Linked DNA regions of Homo sapiens: all the other regions are linked to region 1. The links are contacts of gene promoters, found by promoter capture Hi-C in blood cells and fetal thymus (Javierre and others, 2016). All regions are on one chromosome and are shown on one strand. Each heading gives the region's core, a stretch centred on a gene start or on the middle of the fragment in contact. The rest is flanking DNA. Distances are from core to core; before and after follow the strand shown. Region 1 holds the start of MYO1C (myosin IC). Region 2 has its middle 18 kb from the start of BHLHA9. Region 3 holds the start of BHLHA9 (basic helix-loop-helix family member a9). Region 4 overlaps TRARG1 (trafficking regulator of GLUT4 (SLC2A4) 1 (gene/pseudogene)). Region 5 holds the start of PRPF8 (pre-mRNA processing factor 8). Region 6 has its middle 38 kb from the start of TRARG1. Region 7 overlaps YWHAE (tyrosine 3-monooxygenase/tryptophan 5-monooxygenase activation protein epsilon).

Region 1 (4,152 bases), core at 912-3,411:
GGGGACATGGCCTGTCCCCACATCCAGCACTTGCCTCCGCCATGGTCACTCGGCAGCCCTTTTCCCAGGAGAAGACACCTCTGGGAGCCTGCTCAGTGCTTGTCCTGCCATCCTGTGTCCTGGGACTGAGGGTTACTCCAGTTGCTCTGTGTTGCATACTCTCCCCCGCAAGCCTGTGTATGAAGAATTGTCCCCTGGCTTCCAGCAGGCCATGGCTGGCTGTTTTGTGACTGTTACATTGTGCAGGGGTAATTATTAGCGTGGCTTTTACACTTGCGTGTGACTGATGATTGGGGGGTGGGGGTACGGTGATGGGCCTGGGACTAGCTGTAGATTCCAGGAACAGGGACCCTGTAGATCCCAACTAGACTTCTGTGTCTGAGATTTGCAGAAGTGGCCAGGACTGGGGCTAGGATGAGGTTCTAGAATGGTGAGCCTCTGGGGCCCTAACCAGGTGGAGCATGCCATCTATGCCGGTGGCCGCTTAATGTACTCTGTTAAGTCAAATGAGCTCTTGTTCATCCCTCCTGACCCGCTGCTCTGCATACCCTGGTGTTGAGCCTTCTGCCTGCGTTAACCAGTCCAGAATGCCACCATCTTCTCTTTCTGCCCCACTTCTCCTCAGCCCCTTCTTGCTGAGTTTTCCCCCATGGTAACCTATCCCTGCCCCCAACACATATACCTAGGGACCTCCAAAGCCCTCACTTGCCCACCTGTTCCTTCTCACATGCACAGCCATCACGAGGGTTACTGCATGGCACCCTTCATTGGGCAGATGGGAAAGCCAAGGCTCAGAGAAGTGGTACAGTCTCTTCAAAGTTCCAGGCACCTGTGGTTTCCCACAGGACCAGAAACAGGAATGGGGTCTGAACCCACCCGCAGAGCGGTCTCAGTAGTCTGTAAAATACAGATGATGTCCCTATTCTCAAGATTACTGTGGGAGAACAATTGCAGAAAGTGTATCGCACTAGACCCGCCTCCCCGTTCTGATTAATGCGGCCCCGGGGCTTGACCCCAGGGGTCCCCCCACATGCTCACCTCCCCCGTGGTGAACTGAGGTCGCCACACACCCAGCCTCCTGTGTGGGAGGGGTGAGCCCAGCAGTGATTGAGAGGCGGAAAGGGGAATGGGGGGTGCTCTCCGTCCTCTGGGCCCCAGTCAGGATATGGCCGTTCTGGGTCCACCCCGACCCACTGGGTGGAAACAGGAAATAAGTGAGACCTGGTGTGCACTGGGTCTACGCCTGGCTCCACGGCTGATAAGGGCCATTGTGTGGCCGCCGGGGATGAGCCTGCTCTGGATAGATGTGCTTCCCGGAGGAAGGAAGGAAGGCTTGCTAGCTTTTCCGGGGCGGGGGAAGCTGTGGGGAGAGAGAAGGGTGCCGGGGGGAAGGCCCCTGCCTATGGGGCTGTCGGTGCCAGCACACACCCACGGGACTCAGCCCTTCCTATGCCAGCCTCTCCCTCTGGAAAGGTCTGTTTCCCCTATCCACTTCCCTGTTCTTACTTCCTATAAGGAATGGCTGGAGACTGGAGGGCTCAGTCTCAGGCCAGGAAAGTGTCAGCTGTGATTTAGCAACAATAAAAATAGAAAAGCAGGAACATCAGGGGTGGGGGTCACCTGGGGGTACTGTTGAAACGCAAGGGATGAACAGGGCTAGAGGTTGCCCACACCCAGGGAACCCAGGAACTAACCTCACAAGCTCTGAGGCTCAGAGGAGGGTAAGCCAAGAGCTTCCTCACAGCGGGACAGCCCCCTGTCCGGGCCCTGCATGACCAGGCCCCAGCAGCCCTGGTCTCTCAAACTCATGGTGGGGGCTCACCTGCTGTGGGGGGCAGCCCCGTTGAGGGGATGTGCAGGAAAGCCAGTGCCTACTAACGGGTCCTCTTGGCCTAGGGGAGGGCATGCCGTCTGGTTTGGGGAGTGGGCCCCGTGCTCTCTAGGTGGTACCAGAGAGTGGGCAGGAGGAGGGGCCCAGCCATAGAGCTGCCGTGGGGATGGGGGGAAGGGGAAAGGCGTCCTAGCCTTTGACCTGGAGCCCAGGGTCCCCCATGGGTGGCTGCATCGGCTCCTCTGGTTACCTGGGACAACAGGCATTTCCTCCATCCCCAGCCCCTCCTCTTCCTGCTCCAACCATCCGGGCCAAGAGGCCTCCCAGTCAGACCTGGACGGCTCCAGCCGTGTCCTGAGGAGCTGGACCAGCCACATCCCCTGGGGCTGCAGTTGAAGCAGAACCAAGTGGCCATCCCGGCGTTAGACCGTAGGTTCCTGGTCCCGGAGTGGTCGGAGCCCGCCAGTGGGCAGGCAGCTCTTGCTCACAGGCCGCGGTGCCCAGGCCGCTGGCTCTCCGCAGGGCGGAATGGCGCTGCAAGTGGAGCTGGTACCCACCGGGGAGATCATCCGCGTGGTTCATCCCCACAGGCCCTGCAAGCTTGTAAGCTGGGATGCTCTGGGCTGGGAGGAGGGTGGGAGCGTCTCCCCAAGGCCGGGCAGCCCCTCTCAGGCGAGCCCTCGGGCAAGAGCTGAGCAGCGGGGAGGGGTTCCGATCCTTGGCGGGGCCAGAACAGACTGAACAAGACGGGGTGAGTGGAAGAGTAAGGATGCAAGGGCCACTAGCAGCAGGATTTTTGGAAGTGGAGGTCTGGGCTTGACTCTTCCCCGGCTTCCCGAACCTCAGTGGGCAGAACCGTGAATACTGGGCACAAAAGGCAAGTGCCGGCTGCTGTGAGGTCGAAGGACCAGGGCATGGAAGCTCCAGGCTCAGTCAACGCCCCGCTCCTCTCCAGTCCGCAGGGCTGGGACCGCCCAAGACTCAGAACAGAAGGACGGTGTGGGAGGTGGGTGAAGGGTCACGGGTGGGTAGAAACGGGGGAGCGCGGCCCTGGCCCGGCCCGCAGGAAGGGGCTGGAGATGCAAAGGGCCCGGAGGAGGGAGAAAGTCGGGCGCCCCCACGCCCCCAGCAGCGCGGCGGGGAGCCGGGTCTTCGGCCGGAGGGGCGCGCGCGTGTTCGCTGTGGCCCCGGGAACGGGCCGAGGCGGGGGCCGCACGCACCGAGGCTTCGCGGACGCGGCCGGGGCTGAGGCGGGGCGGGGCGGGGCCGGAGGGTGCGCGGCCCTGCCCGGGATGACGACAGGCTGCGGCCCGGCCCCCGGCGGGCCCTGGGCGGGGAGAGTGCGCCCGGGCCGCGGATCCCCAAGCCCGCCACGCCGCCCAGCCCGGCCCCGCCCGCGCCGGAAGAGCCACGCCGGTGGGTACTCGGGGCGCGGGGACGGCGGCCGCGGGGGGCGGGTGTGGGGAGCGGGCGGCCGGGCCGGGAGCCGCCGTGCACGAGGCAGGGGTCACGGCCGGGGATCGCTGGGGCCGAAGAACGGCCGCGTGGACCCGTGCGGGGGGGGGGGGTCCCACGACCCGGAGGCGCCGGCGCAGCCTGGTGGAGACTTAGATTTACCTGCGGGGAGCGGGAGGCGGGGAAGAGCGGCCTGGGCTGCAGGACCCAGGACCCTGCGCGCCCTTCGGGCCCCGCCCGCAGCCCTGCTCCGCCTCTGGGTTCCGGAGAAGCCGCCTAAACCCGCCCCTTCCCGTTCTCCGCCCCTGGGGCCCAGCGCGCCCCGAGTGTGACGGGCGGGGGGCTCCGGGGTGGCCGGAGAAGGAGGATGGCCACGCGGCCCTCAGTCCTCACGCTCCGGCCTCCCGCGCACACGCCTGGCTCTGAGATTCATTCATTCATCCAGGGGTCCGGGAAGGGGTGACTGAGCCCCACCGTGTGCCTCGCTGCGTGTAGGGAGTGGGAGCCGTCTCCTGGGAGGGACTGACAAGGAAACAGCTGATTCCTGCGGGGTGCGATAAGGAGGCGCTGCGTGTTTGGGAGAATCAGGAAGGGGTTCTGGAGGAGGTGACACCTGAGCCGAGTCTCAGTGAGGTGGGCAGGGAGAGTGCCCCGGGCTGGGGAAGCCGCAGGTGCAGGCACTGAAGCTTGGACTGGCTGGCGACGGTGCGAAGGCCCCCTCCTGGGGGGAGGGGTGGGGGGAGAGGGGACTGGAGCGGGCCATCTGGCACATCGGAATGCAGGAGCAGTGGGGTAAACTGGGGACAGCAGGGGGGTCTCGGGAGTTCATAGGCAGGGTCCTGGTAAGCAGCAGTGAGTGTGAATCA
Region 2 (4,152 bases), core at 579-3,078, 240 kb after region 1:
AGTGCCGCGATCTGGGCTCACTGCAAGCTCCGCCTCCCGGGTTCACGTCATTCTCCTGCCTCAGCCTCCCGAGTAGCTGGGATTACAGGCACCTGCCACCACGCCTGGCTATTTTTTTTTTTTTTTGTATTTTTAGTAGAGACGGGGTTTTGCCACGTTGGCCAGGCTGGTCTCGAACTCCTGACCTTGTGATCCGCCCGTCTCGGCCTCCCAAAGTGCTGGGATTACAGGCGTGAGCCACCGCGCCTGGCGGACATTGGGATTTAAGATTTCAAGGCAGGATTAGGCTGAGGTCCTCGGGTGGCCGTGTGACCTCTGCACACCCAGAAGCGCCTTCCTCCCTGCGCCTGCGCCAGGTCCAGCTTTGGGCTCCTGGGGTCTCAGCCAGTGCGCGGTCTTCCTGCCTCAGCTCCACGGGGAGCTCTTGGACGCTCCGCAGCGCTTTCGCAGAGTCCCCAGTTCTCCCGTCCCGCCGGGACTCCAGGAAGGGGTGAGTGTTTGAAGGCTCCTCCCACGGAGCGTGAGCATTTCCTGTACAGCAGCTGGGCAGCCTCTCAGCGGACTGGTGTGAGCTGGGGCTGCGGGGAAGGTTCCAGAACAGCGGGCTATGTTTAACCTGGCACAGGTGCCCAATTCCCAGCTCAGGGAAGGGGCGTGGTAGGTGGGAAACAATCTTGCTTTCATTGTTTTTTATCATTGCATTATTTTTTACATTAAAAAAATTTTTTTTGAGACAGAGTCTTGCTCTGTCGCCAGGCTAGAGTGCAATGGCACGATCTCGGCTCACTGCAACCTCCGCCTCCCGGGTTCAAGCGATTCTCGGCCGGGCGCGCTGGCTCAAGCCTGTAATCCCAGCACTTTGGGAGGCCGAGGCGGGCGGATCACGAGGTCAGGGGTTCGAGACCAGTCTGACCAACACGCTGAAACCCCGTCTCTACTAAAAATTCAAAAAATTAGCCAGGCTTGGTGGGGGGCGCCTGTAGTCCCAGCTACTCGGGAGGCTGAGGCAGGAGAATCGCTTGAACCTGGGAGGCGGAGGTTGCAGTGAGCCGAGATTGCACCATTGCACTCCAGCCTGGGCGACAGAGTGAGATTCCATCTCAAAAAAAAAAAAAAAAAAAAAAAAATAGCCATTCTCCTGCCTCAGCCTCCCGAGTATCTGGGATTACAGGCGCCCTCCAACATGCCAGCCTAATTTTTGTATTTTTAGTAGAGACGGCATTTCACCATGTTGGCCAGGCTGGTCTCAAACTCCCAACCTCAGGTGATCCTTCTATCTCAGCCTCCCAAAGTGCTGGGATTACAGGCGTGAGCCACTGCACCCAGCCCATCGTTTATTATTTTATTAAACATTTAGGATGCTGGATTCAGTGGGCATCTTCACCTGGTTTCATTACTAGTTTTCCTTTTCACAAATCCTTCCGGCTTGTTATTAAGAAATAACTTTAGGGGCCGGGCGCGGTGGCTCACGCCTGTAATCCCAGCACTTTGGGAGGCCAAAGTGGGCAGATCACGAGGTCAGGAGATTGAGACCATCCTGGCTAACACGGTGAAATCCCGTCTCTACTAAAAATACAAAAAATTAGCCAGGGGTGGTGACGGGCCCCTGTAGTTCCAGCTACTCGGGAGGCTGAGGCAGGAGAATGGCTTGAACCCGGGAGGCGGAGCTTGCAGTGAGCGGAGATTGCACCACTGCACTCCAGCCTGGGCGACAGAGCGAGACTCCATCTCAAAAAAAAGAAAAAAAAGAAATAACTCTCTCCCCCAGGGGCCAAAGAGGGCCGGGGAGAAAATGAAATTGACCAAGTGTCAATGAACGAGGGCAGGGGAGGGATAAATGCTCCATCCTGCTCCTTCAGCAGTGGGCGTGGGTCCAAAACGACTGTTAGACTCATAAATTGCTCACTTATCCTCCCTGTTTGCTCCAAATGGCTGGAAAAGCTATTTCTGCTAATCACAGGCGTAGGCCCGTTGCTGGAAGGGGGCCAGCCTGGGCCCAGCAGGAGTGTGAATTGCACCCGGATTCATTATCTGTATCTAGTCCCACATTTTAGTGGTAGGTTTTTGTTTGATTTCAAAGTGAGATGGTTAGGTCATTATTTGTTAAATTATAGCTTTTAATTAGCAGATCTATTGAAATGAAAAGCCTGGAAGAGACACACACACACACACACGCCGCTAAGTTTTTGTTTGGAATTTATAATTATTACTGTTAGGAAAACATTAGTTGGGGGCGTTAAAGTCATTTTTTTTTTTAAAGAAAATCTTCAAATTATGCGCTGTTGGGGGAAGGGGGGAGGGAGACACCAGTGAGCTAGAGACCTCCCGTAATGCCAACAGTATTATTACCCAGCCCCGGGTCCTTGTCTTTTTAGAAAGAAAGGGAACAGATGGGTTTATAGTAATTCATATTCTTTCTCCTCACGGCGGGAATCAGAGATTAAATCAGTGGGTAACCAAGACTGGCTGCCATGGAGTTCTGCTCCGTTCCTAATTCCCCTGGAAGGTAGGGAGGATGGTTGAGGGGCGGTGGGGTTGGAGCAGGGCAGTGTGGTGGGGAGTGGGTCAGCCTTGGTAGATTTGCCTCTGGGGGTTTAGTTTCTGCCTTTTGGAGGAACAAGGAGAGGCTAATATTCTCTCTCTCTCTTTTTTTTTTTTGAGTCTTGCTCTGTCGCCCAGGCTGGAGTGCAACAGCGAGATCTCAGCTCACTGCAACCTCCGCCTCCCGGGTTCAAGTGATTCTCGTGCCTCAGCCTCCCGAGTAGCTGGGACTACAGCGTGCACCCACTCCCGGCTAATTTTTGTATTTCTAGTAGAGATGGGGTTTCAACATGTTGGCCAGGCTGGTCTCGAACTCTTGACCTCGTGATCCACCTGTCTCGGCCTCCCAAAGTGCTGGGATTACAGGCGTGAGCCATGGTGCCTGGCCGGCAGTGATCTTGATCCCCACCCTCTTCCCCAGGGTTGGGGTGCGGGGGTGAGTTCCAATTCAGATGTCTTCCATCTTCTCTTATTTTGAAGCCCCTTCCTTTGAAAACAGGACACTTTGCAAAGGTCACTTGTAACCAGAGGCTTTCTGGTTGTGTGTTAAGGGTTTTTCTGAGTGAGCTTTCCCAGAAGGGGAGATGAGAAAATAGCCTATTAATAAATAGCACGTTGTTCTAAAAGAGTTAGGGGCTTCTGGCCAGGCGTGGTGACTCACACCTGTAATCCCAGCACTTTGGGAGGCCGAGACAGCTGGATCACGAGGTCAGGAGATCGAGACCATCCTGGCTAACACAGTGAAACTCTGTGTCTACTAAATATACAAAAAATTAGCCCGGCGTGGTGGCGGACGCCTGTAGTCCCAGCTACTCGGGAGGCGGAGGCAGGAGAATGGGGTGAACCTGGAAGGCGGAGCTTGCAGTGAGCCGAGATGGCGCCACTGCACCCAGCCTGGGAGACAGAGCGAGACCCTGTCTTAAAAAAAAAAAAAAAAAAAGAGTTAGAGGCTTCTGTTGTTATTGGGGAATTGTTTGTTTGTTTTGATTTTGCAAAACCTGAGTGTGGATCTGATGCTCCGCCTCCCCATCTTGCCTTCATCCTTATGCTTAACAATCCCATTTACTCCACTCTAGGAGTAATCAAAGATGTACAACCCTCTGCCTGTGGGGGAGAACAGCACAGATAAGAAGCGCAGAATCGGGAATTGTTTTCTGATGAGCAAATGTCAAATTTTATCGATGAGCTTTGGGGATGAGAGAAAGGGTTATCATGATAGCCTGAAGCAACTTAGATTCATTGCTCTGGATCTCTGATGGCAGAATACATGTTTGGGAAGTGATTCCACACGCAAATTTTGGTCTCTGAAAAAGGCTAGAGCAAGAAATAAATACAAGAAAAGGCATTAAAGCTTTTTACTCCAGTAACAACAAAAACCAAAAATTTAATTTTTGTAATTTCATGTTATTGAAAATCTACTCCAACTACATGTTTTGTTATTTTTTAAGCACATAATTGCTGCAGCGGCAGCTGTGTGCACTGGAGGGAATGGAATTCCGTCTGTCGTTCACGTGACTTTTCTTCCCCTCCACAGCCCCCAGCAAGGGTCCCCATGATCTTCCCTCCACAGCACCCAGCAAGGGTCCCCATGATCTTCCCTCCACAGCCCCC
Region 3 (4,152 bases), core at 433-2,932, 220 kb after region 1:
CCTCGGCCCCCTTCCGCGCCGTGAGGCCTAGTCCTGGCGCGCCCCGCAGCATGGCCTTCCCGGGCACTCGCCCTCTGCCCCAGCCCCGGCCCTCTGCCCTCTGCCCTCTGCCCACTGCCTTGGCCCGGCTCGCGACGCGGACGGTCCCCGGCTCCTGGGGCTGGACACTCCCGAGACAGGCCCCTTCCAGCTGGGCTTTATGGCACCACGCGGCGCCCCGCCCTCCCGTCCATCCATCTCCCTCCTCCTGCTTTATTATCGGCCTCCAGGTAGGTCGGCGGGGGAGGAACCGAGGGGAAGAAGGAAAGCAAGGAGGGAAGCTTGCAGGTTCTTGTAAGCGGGGACCAGACGGGCAGCCCGGCCACGCTGCCCCGGGGACCTTGCCCTGCCTAGCTCTGGGGCCGCTGTGGGGTGTCTGGGTTCCACATTCTTCCTCCCCATTCCCAGATAAGGTGCTAAGTTTGGCTTCTAGCAGGAGAGCTGATAGGAATAAAAAGAGGCAGAGGGCCGGGCACTGGGGCTCACGCCTGTCATCCCAGCAGTTTGGGAGGCCGAGGCGGGCGGATCACTTGAGTTCAGGAGTTCGAGACCAGCCTGGCCAACAGAGTATATAAAACCCCGTCTACTAAAAACACAAAAATTAGCCGGGCGTGGTGGCAGGCGCCTGTAATCCCAGTTACTCGGGAGGCTGAGGCAGGAGAATGGCTTGAGCCCAGGAGCTGGAGGTTGCAGTGAGCCGAGATCGCACCACTGCACTCTAGCCTGGGAGACAGAACGAGACTCCGTCTCAGAAAAACAACAACAAAAACAACAACAAAACCTTGAAAGTTCTTGTCAAGTCCCGTGGGCAACCACAGAGATGTCACTGAGGAAAAGCATGAGTGTCCCGGCAGGACTCATATGGGAGGCGCAGGGCCCTGCAGGTAAAGCTGACCCAGAGCTTCCGGCTTTTTCAGCTATGGAGGGCGGCTGGCTGCAATTGGGGTTCGGGTTTTGGTTGGGCCTGACTCTCCCTCCACTGCCCTTTGACTCCCCTTCTGCAGGCAGAGCTGGGATGAGTCAGCAGCAGAGGGTGACGGGGAAGATCCCTTTGCAGCCCTGGGTCCACATCAGGGGCATCTTTGGGGTCCAGAGCCCTCGGGCAGCCCCATCTTGTGACACAGCCCTGCCAGGTTATGAACTCAATGAGCAGCCTCTGTCCTCTTCCCCCAGGGATTTGCATTTGAAAGAGGGTCTCAGAAAAAAGATGATGTTTATTCCCAAAGAAAGACCCCCAGTAGAATTTCCGGCATCCACAGCTGAGTTATTTGGAGCGCCTGAAGGCCACTCATTCCCAGTCACAATCCAAATGCCTCTAAGATGCCAAGGCCTATGGCATTGGAATGGGTGTGTGGTTCACATCCATCTCGCCAAAAGAGCATTGCCAATAACCCCATTATTTCAAACTGTGAATTTCTCCATAAAAGAAAATAATAAGGCATTAGGAAGCAGAGTGTATGTATTTACTTCTGTGATTGTCTGCCTTGCCCACTAGGATGAAAGCATCCTAAGGACATCTGTATTTCCCAGGTTCTATGTCCCCCAAATCTGCAATATATGTCGAATTATAAAACAGCTAGAGGCCGGGCGCAGTGGCTCACGCCTGTAATCCCAGTACTTTGGGAGGCCGAGGTGGGCGGATCACTTGAGGTCAGGAGTTCAAGACCAGCCTGGCCAACACGGTGAAACCCCGTCTCTACTAAAATACAACAATTAGCTGGACGTGGTGGCGGGGAGCCTGTAGTCCCAGCTACTCGGGAGGCTGAGGCAGAGAATCGCTTGAACCAGGGAGGCGGAGGTTGCAGTGAGCCGAGATCCCGCCACTGCGCTCCAGCCTGGCGGACAGAGCGAGACTCCGTCTCAAAAACAACAAAAAATAAACCAGAAAAAAAAAAAAGGTCAGTAAAAGCAAAGAAAATGCCCACGCAGCGCGCGTTTCCCGGTGGCGTTTCCCGGCCGCTCCCGCCCTTCCCCGCGCACGTCAGGAAACGGCCCCACGCGAAGAACCCCGAGGACCCGGGAGAGGCGCCCCCTCCTGGAACCCGGGACTCCCGGGCGCTGCGGGGCGCGGCCGACTTCAAAGCGAGCGGCGGGCCCGGCATTTCCGCGGCACCTGCCCGTGCCCGGGAGCGCGAGTTCTCGGCCCGGGCGGGGGCGGGCGGGGGCGGGCGGGGCGCCGTGATTTAGGGTCTGGCGGTTCCGCCGGCGGCCGCGTAGGTGCCTATTAGCGCCGGGCGGGGCCTGGGCTTCAAAAGTTCCGGCTCTTCCTCCGGAAGTTCCGGCGCCGCTCCCCGAGGGAGGACGGAACGCCCGCCCGGGAGAGAAAGTCCGGGAGCCGCTCACGGGGGCCTCGACCCCACCCCCTCCGGAGAGCGGGTCCCGGGAAGCCCTGAGCCTCCTTCTCTCCCAGGCGAGACCCTGGCGTTTCAACCCACACGCCCGGTGTGGAAGACGTAGGGGCGCAATTGCAGCCTCTGCCCCTTCATGCGCTCATTCAACAAAAACTTTTTTTTTTTTGAGACCGAGTCTCGCTCTGTCGCCCAGGCTGGACCGCAGTGTCGCAATCTTGGCTCACTGCAAGCTCCACCTCTCGGGTTCAAGCGATTCTCCTGCCTCAGCCTCCCGAGTACGTGGGATTACAGGCACCCACCATCGTGCCCAGCTATTTTTTGTATTTTTACCAGAGACGGGGTTTCACCATGTTGGCCAGGATGGTCTCGAACTCCCGGCCTTAAGTGATCCGCCCGCCTCGGCCACCCAAAGTGCTGGGATTACAGACGTGAGCCACCGCTCCCGGCCCTGAACTGGATTTCAAAGGATGAATAGCAGTTTGCCAAGCAGACAGGAGGTAGAGGGAACAGCAGGTGCCAGGCCCTGGAAGTGTAAGCGGTCACAGGATGATGCGAAAAATACAGGAAAGTGACTTTGCCAAACCACCAAATGTGAGGCCAGGGAGTGACGGGAGATAAGGCTGGAGATCACCAGGCGTCGTCCCAAAAGCTTGCTTTTCGCCCTGTAGGCAGCTGGGTACTGCAAAAGGTTATTAAGCAGAGGAATGTCAGCCGTATTTGAATTACAGCTAGAGCTCTTTGAGCAGTGTGGAGAATGGATGTTAAGACAAATTCCACTTAGGAAGCAAGGATCCTGGAGGAAGGGGGGGCCTGAGCTATGCAGGCAGTGGTGAGAGAAGGGCACGGAGTCAACACCTGTTTGGAAAATAGAATTGACATGTGGGGGTGCCAATGGGATAAAGCAGATGACAAAAAGGGGTGTCGTCTCCATATTCTCCTTTAAGAGCAGAAGCCTTAGTTCAGAGACTCTCTCTACAAAGGTCCAGCCATGGACATGGGGACAAGAAAGCCAGTGGCATATGGTCACCTCAGACCCAGGGCACCCACGACTTCGGTTATTTTTTTTTTTTTTTTGAGGTGGAGTCTCGTTCTGTCTCCCAGGCTGGAGTGCAGTGGCGAAATCTCGGCTCACTGCAACCTCCACCTCCCGGGTTTAAGCGATTCTCCTGCCTCAGCCTCCTGAGTAGCTGGGACTACAGGCGTGTGCCGTGGTGGATGTTTTTGTTATCACTGTTTGCTATGTGGCATTTGAACAGCCTTCCTATCTGGGGAGAAGGGAGCCTCCATGGTGGGGCTCTGGGTGGCAGAGATTTCTGGTAACTGGGACAGATGCGAGTCCAGGCACTTGGCTGCCTGACTTGAATCTGGAGTGGTGTCCCAAAGAAACAAACAGGTAACAGTGGAGAAATCACGGTGCCAGTGCGGGGCCTGTGGCCCTCCACGTCCTACACTGGCATCTAGAGGAGGTTCCTGGCTTGGCCGTGGGTCTAGCTGCCCAGTTTCCTATAATTCTTACGAGTTTCCCAACCTTAATTTCCCAGACTCTTTTCTTTTTTCTTTTTGAGACGGAGTCTCACTCTGTTGTGCAGGCCGCAGTGCAGTGGCGCGATCTCGGCCCACTGCAACGTCCGTGTCCCTGGGCAAGCAATTCTCCTGCCTCAGCCTCCTGAGTAGCTGGGATTACAGGCGCCCGCCACTACGCCCGGCTAATTTTTTGTATTTTTATTAGAGACAGGGTTTCACCATGTTGGCCAGGCTGGTC
Region 4 (4,152 bases), core at 1,141-3,640, 190 kb after region 1:
CTTCCCCTAAGCGGTGGCTGTGGCTGTCCTGGGTTCTGAGTGTGAACAAGCGTGTGTGTGTGTGTGTGTGTGTGTAGGAGTGCACGGCAGAGCCTATTTGTGTGGGTGTGAGAAGGTCTGGGCATGTGTGGCACTCCGAGGGCACCTAGAGTCCCTTCGGGTGTCATGTTCCTCCCGTGACAATCCCTCAACCATCGGTTCGTTTCTGTCCTCTCCCTGGGTTGCTGAGGCTGAGGACCCCGGGGGCCTGCCGGGAAAACGCCCACTCATCATCCCTCCTTCCAGAGCCAGAGCCTGTGCGTGGCCAGTTCCATCGACCTCGCCTCTCCCCTGTGTGACGTGACTTCACGAGGGACAGAAATACTCCGTGCTCACACCCTCCCCCAGCAAACAGGAGCATCTGTTTTGGTCTCAAAGATCCCATAAAGCAAACCCAACCAGTCCCTTCTGTATGAGCAGGAGAGGCTGGAGTTTATTCCCCAGGTGGGGACTGACGTAGGAACACCAGCCCCAAAGGACCAGCCCGGGCCCCCTGAGCCCTGCACCCCTGCCCTCTAGCAGTCACACGGGCTGTGGAAGGCTCAGAGCTCCAGCTGTGCATAGACCCAGGGCCCCTCCCTGTAGACAGAACCTCTGTACTGACCTGCTCTTCCCTTCCCCGGGCCTCTGAGGAGGGTGGGGAGGCGAACAAGGGCCTGGAGAGGAGGCAGGAGGGTCCTGATGGGACAAAGGATGCTGACTTCAACAGCTTTGGGCCACTCTGGGTGTGGCTGGGAGCCCTTCCCATGAAGGCATTGACTCTGGCTGTGAGGTGGGGCTGCCCAGGGCAGGAAAGCCTGGAGGTCTCCAGGGCCTGGGAGCTGCGGTCAGGAGGGTGGGCGGGGGCAGGAGAGGTGCCTGTGGCTGGAGCCTGGGCCAGGGAGAAGTGTAGGGAAAATCATGGGCCTGGAACGAAGGAAGAGGCCGAGGGCCCCACTTGGCTCCTTTCGGGGGTCCCATTAGGTCCTAAGATGAGAGGCCGTGGCGTCCAGGCCCCAGGCTCTGTACATGCAAGTGTATTCCCAAACCTGGTCCCCCGACTCTCCTGCAGACGGGGTCCTTCAGCTGAGCCCTTCCCTCGGTCTCAGGACGGTCAAACAACAGACCCCCATAAAAACTCTCTGACCCACGCCCTTGCAGGTGGCGCAAACGCCCCTGACAGCCTGGGACCCTTTGGGAAGTCCCCCCAGGGGTGGTCCCAAAGCCTCCTCCAGGGAAGGCCTCTGCTGTTTGTGGATGGCCAGGGGCCCAGGGCCAAGCACAGAGCATAGGGCTGGGCTGGAAGCCTGAAACTACCTAAGCAGCACCAGACGGAGCCCCAAGCTTGCACCCCAGGCCATCGCGGGGGCCACGGCAGGACGAGAGCTCAGACCTCGGCCCTCCCCGCTGGCTGACCTTGGCCAGGTCTGGTCCCAGGCTACAGCAGAAGTAGGAGGAAGAGGCAGACTGGCTTGTCCTGGGAGACATCCTGGGACCAGAGTCCTCGAGAGATGCTTCCGAAGCTGACAGGTGTGGGAAGAGGCGTGCGGGTCCTGCCATCCTGGTACCTGTCTTCACAGACACGCCTCTCGGCGCCACCACCTTGCAGCGGAGGATGTTAAGTGAGGCAGTTGCCTCCTTCCCGGGAGCTGCACCCCCCACAGGTGCCTGCCGGGGGAGGTCCCAGGCCTGTGCTGAGCACAGCTCCGCCTCTGCGCTCGGGGCCCTGGCTGGGATCACCGCGGGCGTGTGGCACGAAGCATGCAAACAGTCCATTCTTTCCCCGCTTGAGGAAAACACAAAAGATGGGGCCCCACGTCTTTGCTCCGAGTCCACAGACAGGAAGGAGCTCTGCTGCGTCTCTCCCCGCCAGCGTGTGTCTCGTTTGTGGGGCTGGGTTTTTTCCTCATTCATCCTGGCAGTTTTCGCTGCTTGGTGGAACCCAGGAAATTGTGGGAATGAGAAACAAGCCAGACTGCTGGGGTTGAGATCCCAGGACGCGTCCGGGAGAGTAAACCACGTTACCCATTGGGTTCGCTGTGCTTTCCTTCCTCGCTCCAGGCTTTCTTGTCAGATGGGGGCTGACAGTGGGTGACTGGGGGGTTTCCCTTTGAGTCTGTGCTTTTGGAACTTGGGGACAGGGGATGCTTGACAGTCAGCACCCTGGCCTCCCGCGGTGTGCAGGTCAGAGCTCTCCCGATGGCCAGGGCCGGCCTCTGCTAGCCCAGCTCCCTGCTTAAGTTTATTTCTTCTGAACTGTAAAGAAAAAAAACAGATATGGCAGAACAGGGCTCAGAACACTGGCTCTTCAAGTCCCTGACTGGAGGATTTGGGTTTCTGGTTCCCAGTGGGAAGTGGTAATAGGGATAAGGGGAGAAGGCTAAGGCTTGGGAACCTCTTTGGTTTGGAGCTCTTGGAGTAACTGAACTCCTGCCAGTAAGAGGACTGTGGCCTCAGTGACTGGCTCAGGTGGCACTGGGTCAGAGGTGGGCATGCAACCCTAGCTGAGCCAATCTGAATCAGTCCTGAGACTTTTGCTATCTAACTGTTGAGACTTCTTTCCCTGCTTAGTTACTGGACTGATTAAAATGTGCACCACTCTGGTCGGCTGCGGCAGCTCACGCCTGTCATCCCAGCACTTTGGGAGGCAGAGGCGGGCAGATCACCTGAGGTCAGGAGTTCGAGGCCAGCCTGACCAACGTGGTGAAACCCTATCGCTACTACAAATAACAAAAATTAACCGGGCGTGGTGGCACGTGCCTGTATTCCCAGCTACTCAGGAGGCTGAGGCAGGAGATTCGCTTGAACCTGGGAGACAGAGGTTGCAGTGAGCCGAGATTGTGCCATTGCACTCTAGCCTGGGCGACAGAGCAAGACTCTGTCTGGGGAAAAAAAAAAAAAAAAAAAAAAAAAAGTCCTGGCTAAAATAACAAGCAGCAGCAGGATGGAGACCAAGGCGTCATTTGGTGAGACGGAGGCTAATGTCCTGGGCTGGTGGGCTCCTGCCTTGCATGTACCTGCATGTCAATCAGACTCACTCATGGAGGAAACTGTCACACACGCTCCAATTCACACAGTGAGAAAGTGTGGGACCTGGATTCTGAAGCTGGGCACGCTGATTCCAAACCCGAACGCTTCCCTCTCCTAAGTGGCCAAGGTTGCTGGCGGCCCCACAGCTGAACCCCAGGCTTTCGGTCCCAAGCTCAAGTTGGGCACCCCACACTCTAGACCAGTGCCTCCCAACGTTGACGGTTGGGCTGGGAGTCTTATTAAAGTCCAGATTCCAATCCGGTTCAGGGATGGAGCCTGGAGTTCTGCGTTTCTGACACATTCCTCGATAATCCCGTCACAGGTCCAGGGAGCACAGTTTGAGCAGCGAGGTCTTTAGGGGAAAAGCTTAGGGTTCATTGAAATGGGCAGAGATCCTTGGGGACTTCCTGATGTACGTGTATGAAAGGAAGAAAATCGGCAGTTCAGACCCGGATGACCCCCCAAAGTCACCTCACCAAGCTGCATGGGTTTCTTGAACAGCAGAGAGTCACCTTTGAAAATGGTTCCCCTGGGCCAGGCGCGGTGGCTCATGCCTGTCATCCCAGCACTTTAGGAGGCCGAGGCTGGTGGATCACCTGAGGTCGGGAGTTCGAGACCAGCCTGGCCAACGTGATGCAACCCCATCTCTACTAAAAATACAAACTTAGCCGGGCGTGGTGGCAGGCGCCTGTAATCCCAGCACTTTGGGAGGCTGAGGCGGGAGGATCACCTGAAGTCAGGAGTTTGAGACCAGCCTGACTGATATGATGAAACCCCATCTCTACTAAAAATACAAAATCAGCTGGGTGCGGTGGTGGGCACCTGTAAGCCCAGCTACTCGAGAGGCTGAGACAGGAGAATCACTTGAACCTGGGAGGTGGAGGTTGCAGTGAGCTGAGATCATGCCACTGCAGTCCAGCCTGGGCAACAGAATGAGACTCCATCTCAAAAAAAAAAAAAGAAAGAGAAAATGGTTCCCCTGGGCTGGGCGTGGCGGCTCACACCTGTCATCCCAGCATTTTAGGCGGCCAAGGTGGGTGGATAACCTGAGGTCAGGAGTTCGAGACCAACCTGGCCAACATGATGAAACCGTCTCTACTAAAA
Region 5 (4,152 bases), core at 973-3,472, 190 kb before region 1:
GCCTCGGCCTCCCAAAGTGCTGGGATTACAGGCGTGAACCACCGCGCCCGGCCACAATACTCTTAATGAAACTACAGACCATAGTAGGATTTCACCAGGGCTTAGAGCAATGTCTGGCACGTAGTGAACCTTACACAGGTGAAAGGACTTCACTACCATGACGATGATGATGATGAAGATGATAATGATGATGTTGGACTTTCTAGCACAGCCAGATTGATATGGTGCCTATTTTCAGAGCATGCCATGTTAGTTTCTATATCTAAACCTTTTTTGGCCTGGCACGGTGGCTCACGCCTGAAATCCCAGCAATTTGCGAGGCTGAGGTAGGCAGATTACTTGAGCTCAGTAGTTCGAGACCAGCCTGACAAACATGGAGAAACGCCATCTCTACGAAAAATACAAAATTAGCCGGGTGTGGTGGCACATGCCTGTAACCCCAGCTACTCAGGAGGCTGAGGCAGGAGAATCGCTTGAATCCTGGAGGCAGAGGTTGCAGTGAGCCGAGATTGTGACACTGCACTCCAGCCTGGCAACAGAGTGAGACTCTGCCTCAAAAAACAAAAAACAAACCAAAACCCCCACTTTTTTTCTATGAAACCAGCCTCGCTCTGTCACCCAGGCTGGAGTGCAGTGGTGCCATCATGATCCTCCCACCTCAGCCTCCCGAGTAGCTGGGACTACAGGCATGTACCACTATGCCTGGTTAATATTTTTATTATTTGTAGAGATGAGGGTCTCAGTATGTTGCCCAGGCTAGTCTTAAACTCATGAGTTTAACCAATCCTCTCGCCGCTGCCTCCCAACGTGCTAGGATTACAGGTATGAGTCACGGTGCCCGGCTTCTTTCTTAACTCTTTCTAGTAGTTCTACCACTTGGGATTACCTTTTTCCTTCCTCTCCATTTACCTTTATGAAATCCTCACATCCATCCATCTCCATCAAATCTTTAACAATTCTCCTCTGTCTTTTTTGACTGTAGGGACCTTTAGAACACCCAGCATTAAAAAATAGATTTCAGGCCGGGCATGGGGGCTCACGCCTGTAATCCCAGCACTTTGGGAGGGCCGAGGCAGGAGGATTTCGTAAGGTCAGGAGTTTGAGACCAGCCTGGCCAACATAGTGAAACCCTGTCTCTACTAAAAATCCAAAACTTAGCCGGCAGTAGTGGCGCGTGCCTGTAATCCAGCTACTCTGGAGACTGAGGCAGGAGAATTGCTTGATCCTGGGAGGTGGAGGTTGTGATGAATTGAGATCGCGCCATTGCACTCCAGTCTGGGCAACAGAGTGAGACCCTGTCTCAAAAAAACAAAAGGAATATTTTTTAAATTTTTACCGTTCTGAAAGCACATTGACATCCTTTGAATTTTTTTCTAATTATTTCACTTTGATTTGTAAATTCTCAACTAGATTCAGGGGCTGTATGGGTTACAATTCCTCTGCACCCTCCACAGAATTTCAGACTTTTTTTTTTCCCCCGAGACAGAGTCTCGCTCTGTCACCCAGGCTGGAGTGCAGTGGCGCGATCTTGGCTCACTGCAACCTCCCCCTCCCGGGTCAAGCGATTCTCCTGCCTCAGCCTCCCGAGTAGCTGGGACTACAGGCGCCCGCCACCACGCCCGGCTAATGTTTGTATTTTTAGTAGAGACGGGGTTTCACCATGTTGGCCAGGCTGGCCTCGAACTTCTGGCTTTAAGTGATCCGCCTGCCTCGGCCTCCCAAAGTGCTGCGATTCCAGGCGTGAGCCACCGCGCCCGGCCAAGGTCTTAATTCTTGCCTGCCTTTCTGCTCCCCTGTGAACTCTACTGGTTGTCTTTTTTCCTGCTTTATCCCTCGTCCTCGGTAGACAGTGATGGTTAAATGAATGAATGCATGAACAAATGACTGTCCAGGAGCTAGTACTGCATTGCATGTACACATTGATGACAACAGACATCGTACAATGCGCAATCTTGGCAAATTTATTCAAACCCTTTAGACTTCGCTCTCTCACAGTGCGACGCCGGGAGCCCATCACACGCTGAGGTCTGTCAGAGGCCCCAGAAACAGCCTCGGAAATGGAGGAGGCGGGGCTTCACCCCGACCACACCCCCTTGCGTTCAAAGCCTTTCCGCCTATGGGCCCGCCTCCTCGGCGCAGTGTGCAACTCTAATTGGTCGTCTCACTAATCCATCTGAGCACCTCGGCGCCGACTGGATCAACTGCTGAACTCGGGTTGCGCACTTCCCGGCGCTGGGAACGCGGAGCGGACGCAGTCTGGCCGCCATTGCGCTGCGGGGAAAGCGGCCTCTTGTGTGAGGGCCTGTGGGGTGCGTGGCAGGCGTTTAAGGCCGGGCTGCGGGAGGCGTGGTCGGGTCGGGCCGAGTGACCGAAGGGGTTAGGCCGGGCGGGGCTGGATGCACTGTGTGGCGGGACTGCAGGCCGGGGTCCCCGGACGCCTTTCTGCTGCGCTTCTTGTGGGCCCGGGCCTGTGGTTAGTGAATTTTTCTATCCCGCCGCTCCCCAGATTCTCCGGATATGGCCGGAGTGTTTCCTTATCGAGGGCCGGGTAACCCGGTGCCTGGCCCTCTAGCCCCGCTACCGGACTACATGTCGGAGGAGAAGCTGCAGGAGAAAGGTGAGGCGAGAGTGTGGAGCGGCGCGCGGGCCGGAGGCGGGGCGGGTGTGCGCGCGCGCAGGCGGGTGGGGACCCTCCCCGTTTGGGCAGCTCCTGAGGTGTCAGCTCCCTTGTTATTTCCAGTTAATTTTTCATCAAGTCATTTTAAGCGCGTATTATTTGCAAGCGCTGATCCAGCGGGGGTACAGTAGTGACGGAGACAAAATTCCTGTCCTTACGGGGTTTAAATTACAGCGGGAGAGACAGAGAATAACAAAACCTTGAAGCTCTGTAATAAAAATGTCAGGCCGGGCGCGGTGGCTCACGGTTGTAATCCCAGCACTTTGGGAGGCCCAGGCGGGCGGATCACCTGAGGTCAGGAGTTCGAGACCAGCCTGGCCAACACAGTGAAACCTCGTCTCTACGAAAAATACAAAAATGAGTCGTGTGTGGTGGCGCGTGTCTATAATCCCAGCTACTGGGGAGGCTGAGGCAGGAGAATGGCTTGAACCCAGGAGGCGGAGGTTGCAGTGAGCCGACATCGCACCATTGCACTCCAGCCTGGGAGACAGAGTGAAACAACCTCTCAAAAAAAAAAAAAAAAGTCAGATAGTGATCAATGTGATGAAAGGAAAAACAGAGTAAAATGGTAAGGGAATTGGCAAGGGGTGCTTCTTCCTGCTGGTGCCTGCTTCTCCCTCACACTCACTGACAGGAGCTTACCCTAGGGCAAGAGGTGAAGAGGATTAGGGGGAGGGTGTGCAGGCCTTTAAACTGAGGTGCCTTTCCAGCTCGAAAATGGCAGCAATTGCAGGCCAAGCGCTATGCAGAAAAGCGGAAGTTTGGGTTTGTGGATGCCCAGAAGGAAGACATGCCCCCAGAACATGTCAGGAAGATCATTCGAGACCATGGAGACATGACCAACAGGAAGTTCCGCCATGACAAAAGGGTTTACTTGGGGTAAGGAACATCCTGAAATAATTTCATTTGGAATTTGGCCCTTTTCCCTTCTCCCTGTCCCACAGTCTTGGATTGATGCTTTGACAGCTCATCTTGGTGGATATAAGAGAAAGGAGAAAACCAGTAGGAGTCTCTGATAATTTCTACATCTTCCACTTTTGCAGTCTGTTTCCCCTCTCTTCCCGATCTGGGACTGGTGCTTTAATTTGTCCTGTTGATGATATTATAAGATGTCCCTGGCCAGGCGCGGTGGCTCATGCCTGTAATCCCAGCACTTTGGGAGGCCGAGGCGGGTGGATCATGAGGTCAGGAGATCGAGACCATCCTGGCTAACACGGTGAAACCCCGTCTCTACTAAAAATACACAAAATTAGCTGGGCGTGGTGGCAGGTGTCTGTAGTCCCAGCTACTTGGGAGGCTGAGGCAGGAGAATGGCGTGAACCTGGGAGGCGGAACTTGTAGTGAGCCGAGATCACACCACTGCACTCTGGCCTGGGCGAAAGTACGAGACTCCGTCTCAAAAAAAAAAAAAAAATGAAAAATAAGATGTCCCTATGGTTGAGCTGGTTGAAGTCCAGAGTGGGATACTGTGCATA
Region 6 (4,152 bases), core at 1,032-3,531, 180 kb after region 1:
CGCGGTGGCTCACGCCTATAATCCCAGCACTTTGGGAGGCCAAAGCAGGCGGATCACTAGAGGTCAGGAGTTCAAGACCAGCCTGGCCAACATGGTGAGACCCCGTCTCTACTAAAGGTACAAAAATCAGCCAGGCGTCGTGGCGGACGGCTGTAATGCCAACTACTCGGGAGGCTGAGGCAGGGGAATCACTTGAATCTGGGGAGGAGGAGGTTGCAGTGAGCTGAGATTGCACCACTGCACTCCAGCCTGGGCGACAGAGTGGGACTCCATCTCAATAAATAAATAAATAAATAAATAAATAAATAAATAAATAAATAAGTGCTGGTGAGGATGCTGAGGCACTAGAACCCCTGTGCACCGTCGGTTGGAATGCACAATAGTGCAGTCACTATGGAAAACAGTAAGGCAAGTCCTCAAAAAGTTAAAAATAGAATTACCATGTGATCCAGCAGTTCCGCTTCTGGGTATATGCCCAGAAGAATTGAAAGCGGGATCTCAAAAAGATCTTTGCAAGCCCATGTTCACAGCAGTATTATATTTACAATAGCCAAAAGGTGGGCTGGGCGAGGCGGCTCATGCCTATAATCCCAGCACTTTGGGAGGCCGAGGCGGGCCAATCAGCTGAGGTCGGGAGTTCGAGACCAGCCTGACCAACCTGGCGAAACCCCGTCTATACTAAAAATACAAGAAATTAGCGGGGCGTGGTGGCTCATGCCTGTAATCCCAGCTACTTGGGAGGCTGAGGCAGGAGAATCACTTGACTCTGGGAGGTGGGGGTTGCAGTGAGCCTAGATCGACCCGTGGCACTCCAGCCTGGCCAAGAAAAGCGAAACTCCATTTCAATAAATAAATACATAAATAAAATAGGTTGTCATGGGTCAAATGAAATGTATGTGAAAGTAAGTGGCACATAGTAGATGTTCAATAAATGTGAGCTGAGGCCAGGCGCAGTGGCTCATGCCTGTAATCCCAGCACTTTGGGAGGCCAAGGGAGGTGGATCACCTGAGGTCAAGAGGAGTTCGAGACCAGCTTGTACAATATGGTGAAACCCTGTCTCTACTAAAAATACAAAAATTAGCTGGGTGTGGTGGTGGGCACCTGTAATCCCAGCTACTTGGGAGGCTGAGACAGGAGAATCGCTTGAACCCGGGAGGCGGAGGTTGCAGTGAGCAGTGATCGCGCCACTGCACTGCAGCCTGGGCAACAGAGTGAGAATCTGTCTCAAAAAAAAAAAAAAAAAAAAAAGAGAAAGAGCTGAATGTGAGCAAAATGGAGCTTCTGAGAGTAGAACAGCGTAGCTCGTGGTTTTCCCCCAGAAAATTAGCACTGAGGATAAGATTGACATTTTTGGTGAAAATAAAAATACAGTACTTACTGTGGATTTAATTCATCTGTGCCTAGCCTGTCTGAACTTTATTTTTTATTCTTTTAATGTTTTTATGTATTTTTTGAGACAGGGTCTTGCTCTGTCACCCAGGCTGGAGTGCAGTGGCGCAATCACGGCTCACTGCAGCCTCCAACTCCTGGACTCAAATGAATCTCCCTCCTCAGACTCCTAAGTAGCTGGGACTACGGTATGCACCACTATGCTTGGCTCATATTTTTTTGCATTTTTTTGTAGAGAAGGGATCTCCCTGGGTTCCCCAGGCTGGTCTCAAACTCTGAGGCTCAAGTGATCCTCCTGCCTCGGCCTCCCAAAGTTCTGGGATTACAGGTGTGAGCCACTGTGCCTGGCCCAGTTTATCTGAAGTGATGGAGAGATTGGTGAACTATTACTACATTTTTCTTTTTTCTTTCTTTCTTTCTTTTTTTTTTAATGGAGTTTCACTCTTTTTGCCCAGGCTGGAGTGCAGTGGGGCGATCTCGGCTCATTGCAACCTCCGCCTCCCGGGTTCCAGCGATTTTCCTGCCTCAGCCTCCTGAGTAACTGGAATTACAGGTGCCCACCACCATGCCTGGCTAATTTTATATTTTTAGTAGAGACAGGGTTTCACTATGTTGGCCAGGGTGGTCTCGAACTCCTGACCTCATGATCCACCCTTTTTGGCCTCCCAAAGTGTTGGGATTACAGGCATGAGCCACCAAGCCCGGCTTCCTATGTGTTTTCATAGGGTCTTTAAACTCCTGACTTTGAACTCCCAGGAGACCTGTGACTCACCTAATTAATCAGCTAGCCAAAGCTTTTTGTTAGATTCAATCTTGTGAAATCCATTTTCTTATCAGCACAAACTAGGGCTTTTGATAAAACAATATCCAAATGAAAAGGACTTTTAGGCCTCCCAAGATGTGCTTCACAGCCTCTTTTTAATTGAAAGCCTTTTACAAATGTAACCCATATTTCTGATTTGATCTTTTTCTAAAAGATGAAGCTTTTATTATTATATCTGGTTCCCATTCTAATTCCACTCTTACCAGCTGCAAGCTCCTGAGCAGGTTCTCGCTTCTGCACAAACCAACCCCAGGGGCCGGGCGCGGCGGCTCACGCCTGTAATCCCAGCACTTTGGGAGGCCGAGGAGGGTGGATCACTTGAGGCCAGGAGTTCGAGACCAGCCTGGCCAACATGGTGAAACCCCATCTCTACTAAAAATATAAACATTAGCCGGGCCCAGTGGTGAGTGCCTGTAATTCCAGCTACTTGGGAGGCTAAGGCAGGAGAATCACTTGAACCCGGGAGGTGGAGGTTGCAGTGAGCCAGGATCGCGCCACTGCGCTCCAGCCTGGGTGACAGAGCCAGACTCCGTCTCAAAAAAAAAAAAAAAACCCACTTAGAGAAATTGTTGTTTTCTTCTTCAGGCTTTTCGCATTTTCCAAGTTTGCTGCAATGACGTTGTATTAATTTTGCAATTGGAATGAAATTAAGAAAGGAAAAAACCCACTCCACACCCCTGGGCAAAGTCACCCAGGAGGGAGAAGGTTCACAGCCAGGCAGTGGGAATGTGGAGGCTGTGGGCTGGTGAGAGGTTTTCCCTGCCATTTCCCCCCCTTTCTGTCCTGTCGCTATTATGTTGCTCTTATAATTAAACCCGCTGTGCAGGGAGCCGCTGATCTTGGTCGCCTGGGGTGTGTGTTTACCTCCTGCCTGTTTAAGCAGCCCATGAGTGGCTCCCACGGGCCATGATGAAAACATGAGTTCCTCCAGCTCGGTTCCCCTGGGAGGGCAGCCGGGCCCTGCCTGGAACCTCGTGTTCCCCTCTCCAGGGAGCGTCTGTAGACCCTGGAATGTCTGCACGGGCTAACAACCAGAGGGAGCCAAGCCTGGGACCTCTGTACCCTGAGACCTCAGTGCCCTGGGACTTCCCAAAGACCCAACAGGTGGATGAGTTCTGGGAAGACTGTGGGGTCTGGTTTTAAGGGTGAGAGCAAATCACACTGGCCCGTTCTTAGATCCGGGTTCAATCCCATTACCTGGATTTTCCAGCATCCGTGGTGCCTGTTCACTGGATATCCTGTACAGCCACGGGCCCCCTGAGTGGCTTAGGAGGTCGGAAAGGGCCTCTGACCTCAGCAGGGAACCAGGAGGTAGACGCATCCATTTTCCCCACTGGCCAGGCTGGAGCTGGCAGCCCTGCCTCCAACTGGGGCAATGGGAGGGCAGGCTGATAGCAAAGGAGACGCTGGAGGCAAGAGCCCGACCAAAGCATCCAGCTCCAGGGCGAGGGCCAAGAGCAAGAACCAGATCCAAAGCAAAGGTCAGGAAGACGGGAGCCTGGGGAGGGCAGCGGGGGAGAGGCTTTTCTGGAGAGCTCTGTCCTGGAGGGAGAGGAAGCTTTTTTTTTTTGAGATGGAGTCTCACTCTGTCACCAGGCTGGAGTGCAATGGCGCGATCTCGGCTCACTGCAACCTCCACCTCCCGGGTTCAAGCGATCCCCCTGTCTCAGCCTCCCGAATAGCTGGGACTACAGGCGTGTGCCACCACACCCAGCTAATATTTATATTTTTAGTAGAGACGGGGTTTCACCATGTTGGCCAGGATGGTCTTGATTTCTTGACCTCATGATCCGCCCGCCTCGGCCTCTCAAAGTGCTGGGATTACAGGCGTGAGCCACCGTGCCCGGCCGGGGAGAGGGAGCTTCTCAGGGCTTCCAGCCCCTCCAGCAGCTCAGGCCGCCTGGTGTTTTGGTGTCATTTCAGTCAGGTGAGGCTGATG
Region 7 (4,152 bases), core at 735-3,234, 150 kb after region 1:
GTAAGATGGTTTCCTTGGCTGTCTACGTCAAGAGCTTATTTAGCGTAAAAACATTGAGTTGTACTGCGCATCAGTTTTTTTCATTCTGTTGACCAATAAATACTTTCAGGACCATAATCCCTTCTTGGCTTAGGCATCTCAGGTGTCAAGGATGATAGAAGTCCTTTGCCTGCGTTTAATACCAATTGTAGCAAGTAGAAGAGTCTTTATGCTTGGAATGACACCTTTGTTTGTGGCTGCCATAGCCTAATGTAGTCAATACGAAATAATTGACTTTTTTTCTTTTTTAACAGGTGAAGAGCAGAATAAAGAAGCGCTGCAGGACGTGGAAGACGAAAATCAGTGAGACATAAGCCAACAAGAGAAACCATCTCTGACCACCCCCTCCTCCCCATCCCACCCTTTGGAAACTCCCCATTGTCACTGAGAACCACCAAATCTGACTTTTACATTTGGTCTCAGAATTTAGGTTCCTGCCCTGTTGGTTTTTTTTTTTTTTTTTTAAACAGTTTTCAAAAGTTCTTAAAGGCAAGAGTGAATTTCTGTGGATTTTACTGGTCCCAGCTTTTAGGTTCTTTAAGACACTAACAGGACTACATAGAGGCTTTTTCAGCATTACTGTGTCGTCTCCGTGCCAGATGTGGCAAGATCACCATTAGCAAATGGAAATTACATTTGAAAGCCATTAGACTTATAGGTGATGCAAGCATCTAAGAGAGAGGTTAATCACACTATAGAGGCATAAGTGGTATCAGTTTTCATTTTTCTAATTGTTTAAACTGTGTTTTATACCAGTGTTTGCAAGTAATTGGGTGTTAGCTTGAGATGGTTAAAGGTGGTTTGGGGAGGGACTTCGTTGTAATGGTTTTGCTGTAAAAAATGTTTCCAACTCCGCTGAAATGTTGCTGAAAAGCATGGTGCTGGTAACAGTTCAACAATCCGTGGCTGCTCATTCTTGCCTACTTTACTCTCCCACTGAAGCAGGTTAGCGTTGAAGGTGGTATGGAAAAGCCTGCATGCCTGTTCAATTCTTTTGTTTCTTCTCCTTCCCCCTCCCCCTACCTCCTTCCCCTCACTCCTCCCCTCCTTCGCTCGCTCAACCTCTTTTGTTCAGTATGTGTAACTTGAAGCTAATTTGTACTACTGGATATCTGACTGGAGCCACAGATACAGAATCTGTATTGTTCTTACTGAAACACAGCATGGAATTAACATTAAACTTAAATAAAACAAACCTAAATTAAAAATGCCAAATATCGCGCCTCCATCCTTTATACTTCTAAAATAAAATCTCTAGTCCAAACACACTGACAGTATTATGTTTGCCTGAATGTGAAACATTCCTCCTTTTTTCTTCCATAAATAATTTGTTTGCTTCCCAAAGATGTATGTTTTGGAAAAAAATTGCCTGTAGTCTGGTTGTGAAGAACACTGAGTCAGTTGATGGTGTGTCTTGTCCTCCAGACCAGGCAGCAACATGGTATTTATTTTAATCATTAAAGTACAACATGAGTAGTACAAGGTGTAATTATGGATCATTTTCTAGCATAGTATTTCATACAACCAAATAAGGCTGAATGTCTTATAATAATTCTTAGAGGTAAAAACTGTGTGCCCTCTTCCTCCAGAGGCTAGTGGCAGTAGTGGAGAATTACTCAATCCTTTCTTAGTAATCCATACACACATTATAGACAGCAGGATAGCAGTCTCCCTTTCCAGAAACACTGTATAAGAAGCTTCTTTCCATAAACAGTTTATACATCAATGTGTATAGATACCTAGTTACTGTAGATCTTTTTATGTTAGGCATTCAGATGTGTCTCATTCTGACTGCGTAACATTGATGTACACCTGATTTTGTTAAGACCAGTTTGCTCCTTTTGGGCAGGTGCTGCAGGAAATACCCTTGGAACAGTTTTTGCTTAAATATTTGTATGTATCTGGAAGGTACATTTCTAGATTCCCTGTGTCAGTAAACATTTTTCAGTTGATAAATCCTTCCTCGTCACACTTGTCTTCTAAAATTGGATGTTGAGACTGCAAGTTTACTCTCGGTTTAAAGTGTTAGTAGCAGAGATTTAGGAAATGAACAGATCAGCGATATCCTAGTAGCGTTTAGTGAGTGCTGGCAATGAGAATAAACATGTTTTTGTGAGTTGCTTTTCCGAGAGATAGGGAGACCATTGAATATAATTATATGCTGCTGTTTGGAGCAACCTCCAAGAAGCTTTCAAGTTGATTTGCTCTGTTTCCAGCACACCTGCTACACTTAAAGGTCAAAATCCAAGGAATTCGTCAAGTCTGTTGCAGAGTTTAAAGAAACCACTCGGCTGGGTGCGGTGGCTCACACCTGTAATCCCTGCAATTTGAGAGGCCGAGGCGGGCGGATCACGAGGTCAGGAGATTGAGACCATCCTGGCTAACACGGTGAAACTCCGTCTCTACTAAAAGTACAAAAAATTAGCCAGGCATGGTGGCGCACGCCTGTACTCCCAGCTACTCGGGAGGCTGAGGCAGGAGAATCGCTTGAACCCGGGAGGCAGAGGTTGCAGTGAGCCGAGATCACGCTACTGCACTCCAGCCTGGGCGACAGAGTGAGACTGTCTCAAAAAAAAAAAAAAGGAAAGATCCTTATCAAAAATTGAAAGGCCGGGTGCGGTGGCTCACGCCTGTAATCCCAGCACTTTCGGAGGCCGTGGTGGGTGGATCACGAGGTCAGCAGTTAAGAGACCAGCCTGGACAACATGGGGAAACCCTGTCTCTACTAAAAATACAAAAAAATTAGCCAGGCGTGGTGGCGGGCGACCTTGCTGGGTGTAATTAACATCCAGTGACTTGGGAGGCCTGAGGCAGGACAATCGCTGGAAACTGGAAGGCGGAGCTTGCAGTGAGCCAAGATCGCGCCACTGCACTCTAATCTGGGCAATAAGAGCAGAACTCCGTCTCAAAAAAAAAAAAAAAAAAAAAAAATTGAAAGGGAGCCAGGGAAGCTGCAGAAAGGTGCCGTAGCCCTGTGAGGACGGTGTCACTCCCAGTTCCTGTATTTGTGGGCTGGAAAGGGAATTGCCCCCAAACTTTTCTGGTTTTGATTTGAGTCTTACTTTGAGGATCAGTCGACTTAAGTAGAAGTTTTTAGTTAGTTACAACTTGAATGTAGCTAATATGTGTTTTTAATTACAAATCTCAGTACTTTGCTGCCTTGGAAAACCCAAAGGCTTCCTACAATGTTAGAAGCGACAGTAAGTGGGTTTGTGTACATGCTCTGTTCCGGGTGGGTCCTCAGAACAGCACGTCTGCAAAGTTAAATTTCGGTCCTATAGGAAGATGGGGATGAACTTCCATCACTGAAAGGGGAAACTGGTGGGATAAATGGAGACATTAATTGGCTTCTGTCCCAGACAAATGCCTTGAGCCTTATAAATGAGACCCCAAATTAGCTGCTTCCTGATCCTAGGACAATAGAGGAGAGTGAGGCTTGCTGAAAAAGCGGGATAAAGGTGTGACCCCTGTGTTCTTTTGAAAATTGTAACAAGTAATAGTTCATGGAAAACTGGTGAAATCCTAGAGTGTGTCATTAAAGGAAGCCTTTGTGAGCACTGTGAGAGGAAATGGGAATGCTCCCAGATCCAACCTGGATCAGGAAAACCAAGCCCTGTGTTGTTTTATCCTGTTTCTTTGAGTTCGTAGGATTGTAATAGATACTGTTAATATTTAGCTAACATTGGCCGGGCGCGGTGGCTCACGCCTGTAATCCCAGCACTTTGGGAGGCCGACGTGGGCGGATCACGAGGTCAGGAGATCGAGACCATCCTGGCTGACACGGTGAAATCCCGTCTCTACTAAAAAATACAAAAAATTAGCCGGGTGTGGTGGCGGGCGCCTGTAGTCCCAGCTACTCGGGAGGCTGAGGCCGGAGAATGGCGTGAACCCGGGAGGCGGAGCTTGCAGTGAGCCGAGATCGCAGCACTGCACTCCAGCCTGAGCGACAGAGCGAGATTCTTGTCTCAAAAAAAAAATAATAATAGTTTTGCTAACATTGCGTACCAGCTTTGCACCAGGCACTGTGCTCGTTACTAAGCAATGTCTGGAATCTCACACGTAAGCGCTCAATAATAATCAGGTGAGCCTGCATTGTGCAGATGGGAAAAGCTG

What was found. The method cuts DNA at HindIII sites, captures the fragments that hold promoters and counts their contacts. A CHiCAGO score of 5 or more calls a contact.
Region 2: a fragment that was not itself captured here is called in contact with the fragment with the promoter of MYO1C in region 1 in 1 of 17 cell types (endothelial precursors); the score reaches 6.9 in endothelial precursors.
Region 3: a contact is called between a fragment that was not itself captured here and the fragment with the promoter of MYO1C in region 1, in 1 of 17 cell types (endothelial precursors). The highest score is 5.6, in endothelial precursors.
Region 4: a fragment that was not itself captured here is called in contact with the fragment with the promoter of MYO1C in region 1 in 1 of 17 cell types (activated CD4 T cells); the score reaches 5.1 in activated CD4 T cells.
Region 5: a contact is called between the fragment with the promoter of PRPF8 here and the fragment with the promoter of MYO1C in region 1, in 1 of 17 cell types (neutrophils). The highest score is 7.3, in neutrophils.
Region 6: a contact is called between a fragment that was not itself captured here and the fragment with the promoter of MYO1C in region 1, in 5 of 17 cell types (endothelial precursors, naive B cells, M1 macrophages and 2 more). The highest score is 8.6, in endothelial precursors.
Region 7: a fragment that was not itself captured here is called in contact with the fragment with the promoter of MYO1C in region 1 in 14 of 17 cell types (activated CD4 T cells, endothelial precursors, total B cells and 11 more); the score reaches 10.5 in activated CD4 T cells.

What each region holds. Positions count from the first base shown.
Region 1 is chr17:1,490,695-1,494,846 of GRCh38, reverse strand. MYO1C (myosin IC) reads left to right here and starts at 2,161. Exons shown (of 32, transcript NM_001080779.2): 1 at 2,161-2,434. The coding sequence starts at 2,360. It overlaps LOC105371483 (a long non-coding RNA gene), which reads right to left and starts at 2,060. Exons shown (of 2, transcript XR_934145.4): 1 at 1,222-2,060; 2 at 153-897. INPP5K (inositol polyphosphate-5-phosphatase K) reads left to right here. Exons shown (of 12, transcript NM_016532.4): 12 at 1-270. RefSeq lists silencers at 2,906-3,305, 3,386-3,825 and an enhancer at 3,110-3,829. The HindIII fragment of the contact is 5,990 bases long and covers 1-2,433 here.
Region 2 is chr17:1,250,252-1,254,403 of GRCh38, reverse strand. No RefSeq gene overlaps it. Among named protein-coding and RNA genes, the nearest start is that of BHLHA9, 18 kb to the left of the region's middle. The HindIII fragment of the contact is 4,133 bases long and covers 1-3,894 here.
Region 3 is chr17:1,266,464-1,270,615 of GRCh38, reverse strand. BHLHA9 (basic helix-loop-helix family member a9) reads right to left here and starts at 172. Exons shown (of 1, transcript NM_001164405.2): 1 at 1-172. The coding sequence starts at 52. RefSeq lists enhancers at 1,375-2,177, 2,178-2,981 and a silencer at 2,087-2,316. The HindIII fragment of the contact is 2,719 bases long and covers 323-3,041 here.
Region 4 is chr17:1,296,373-1,300,524 of GRCh38, reverse strand. TRARG1 (trafficking regulator of GLUT4 (SLC2A4) 1 (gene/pseudogene)) reads right to left here. Exons shown (of 3, transcript NM_172367.3): 3 at 1-2,274. The coding sequence ends at 2,261. Among named protein-coding and RNA genes, the nearest start is that of TRARG1, 19 kb to the right of the region's middle. RefSeq lists an enhancer at 1,123-1,717. The HindIII fragment of the contact is 2,052 bases long and covers 1,365-3,416 here.
Region 5 is chr17:1,682,937-1,687,088 of GRCh38, reverse strand. PRPF8 (pre-mRNA processing factor 8) reads left to right here and starts at 2,222. Exons shown (of 43, transcript NM_006445.4): 1 at 2,222-2,309; 2 at 2,507-2,617; 3 at 3,388-3,556. The coding sequence starts at 2,518. The HindIII fragment of the contact is 11,873 bases long and covers 1-4,152 here.
Region 6 is chr17:1,315,089-1,319,240 of GRCh38, reverse strand. No RefSeq gene overlaps it. Among named protein-coding and RNA genes, the nearest start is that of TRARG1, 38 kb to the right of the region's middle. The HindIII fragment of the contact is 189 bases long and covers 2,187-2,375 here.
Region 7 is chr17:1,341,641-1,345,792 of GRCh38, reverse strand. It overlaps YWHAE (tyrosine 3-monooxygenase/tryptophan 5-monooxygenase activation protein epsilon), which reads left to right. Exons shown (of 6, transcript NM_006761.5): 6 at 294-1,518. The coding sequence ends at 346. Among named protein-coding and RNA genes, the nearest start is that of YWHAE, 57 kb to the left of the region's middle. The HindIII fragment of the contact is 491 bases long and covers 1,739-2,229 here.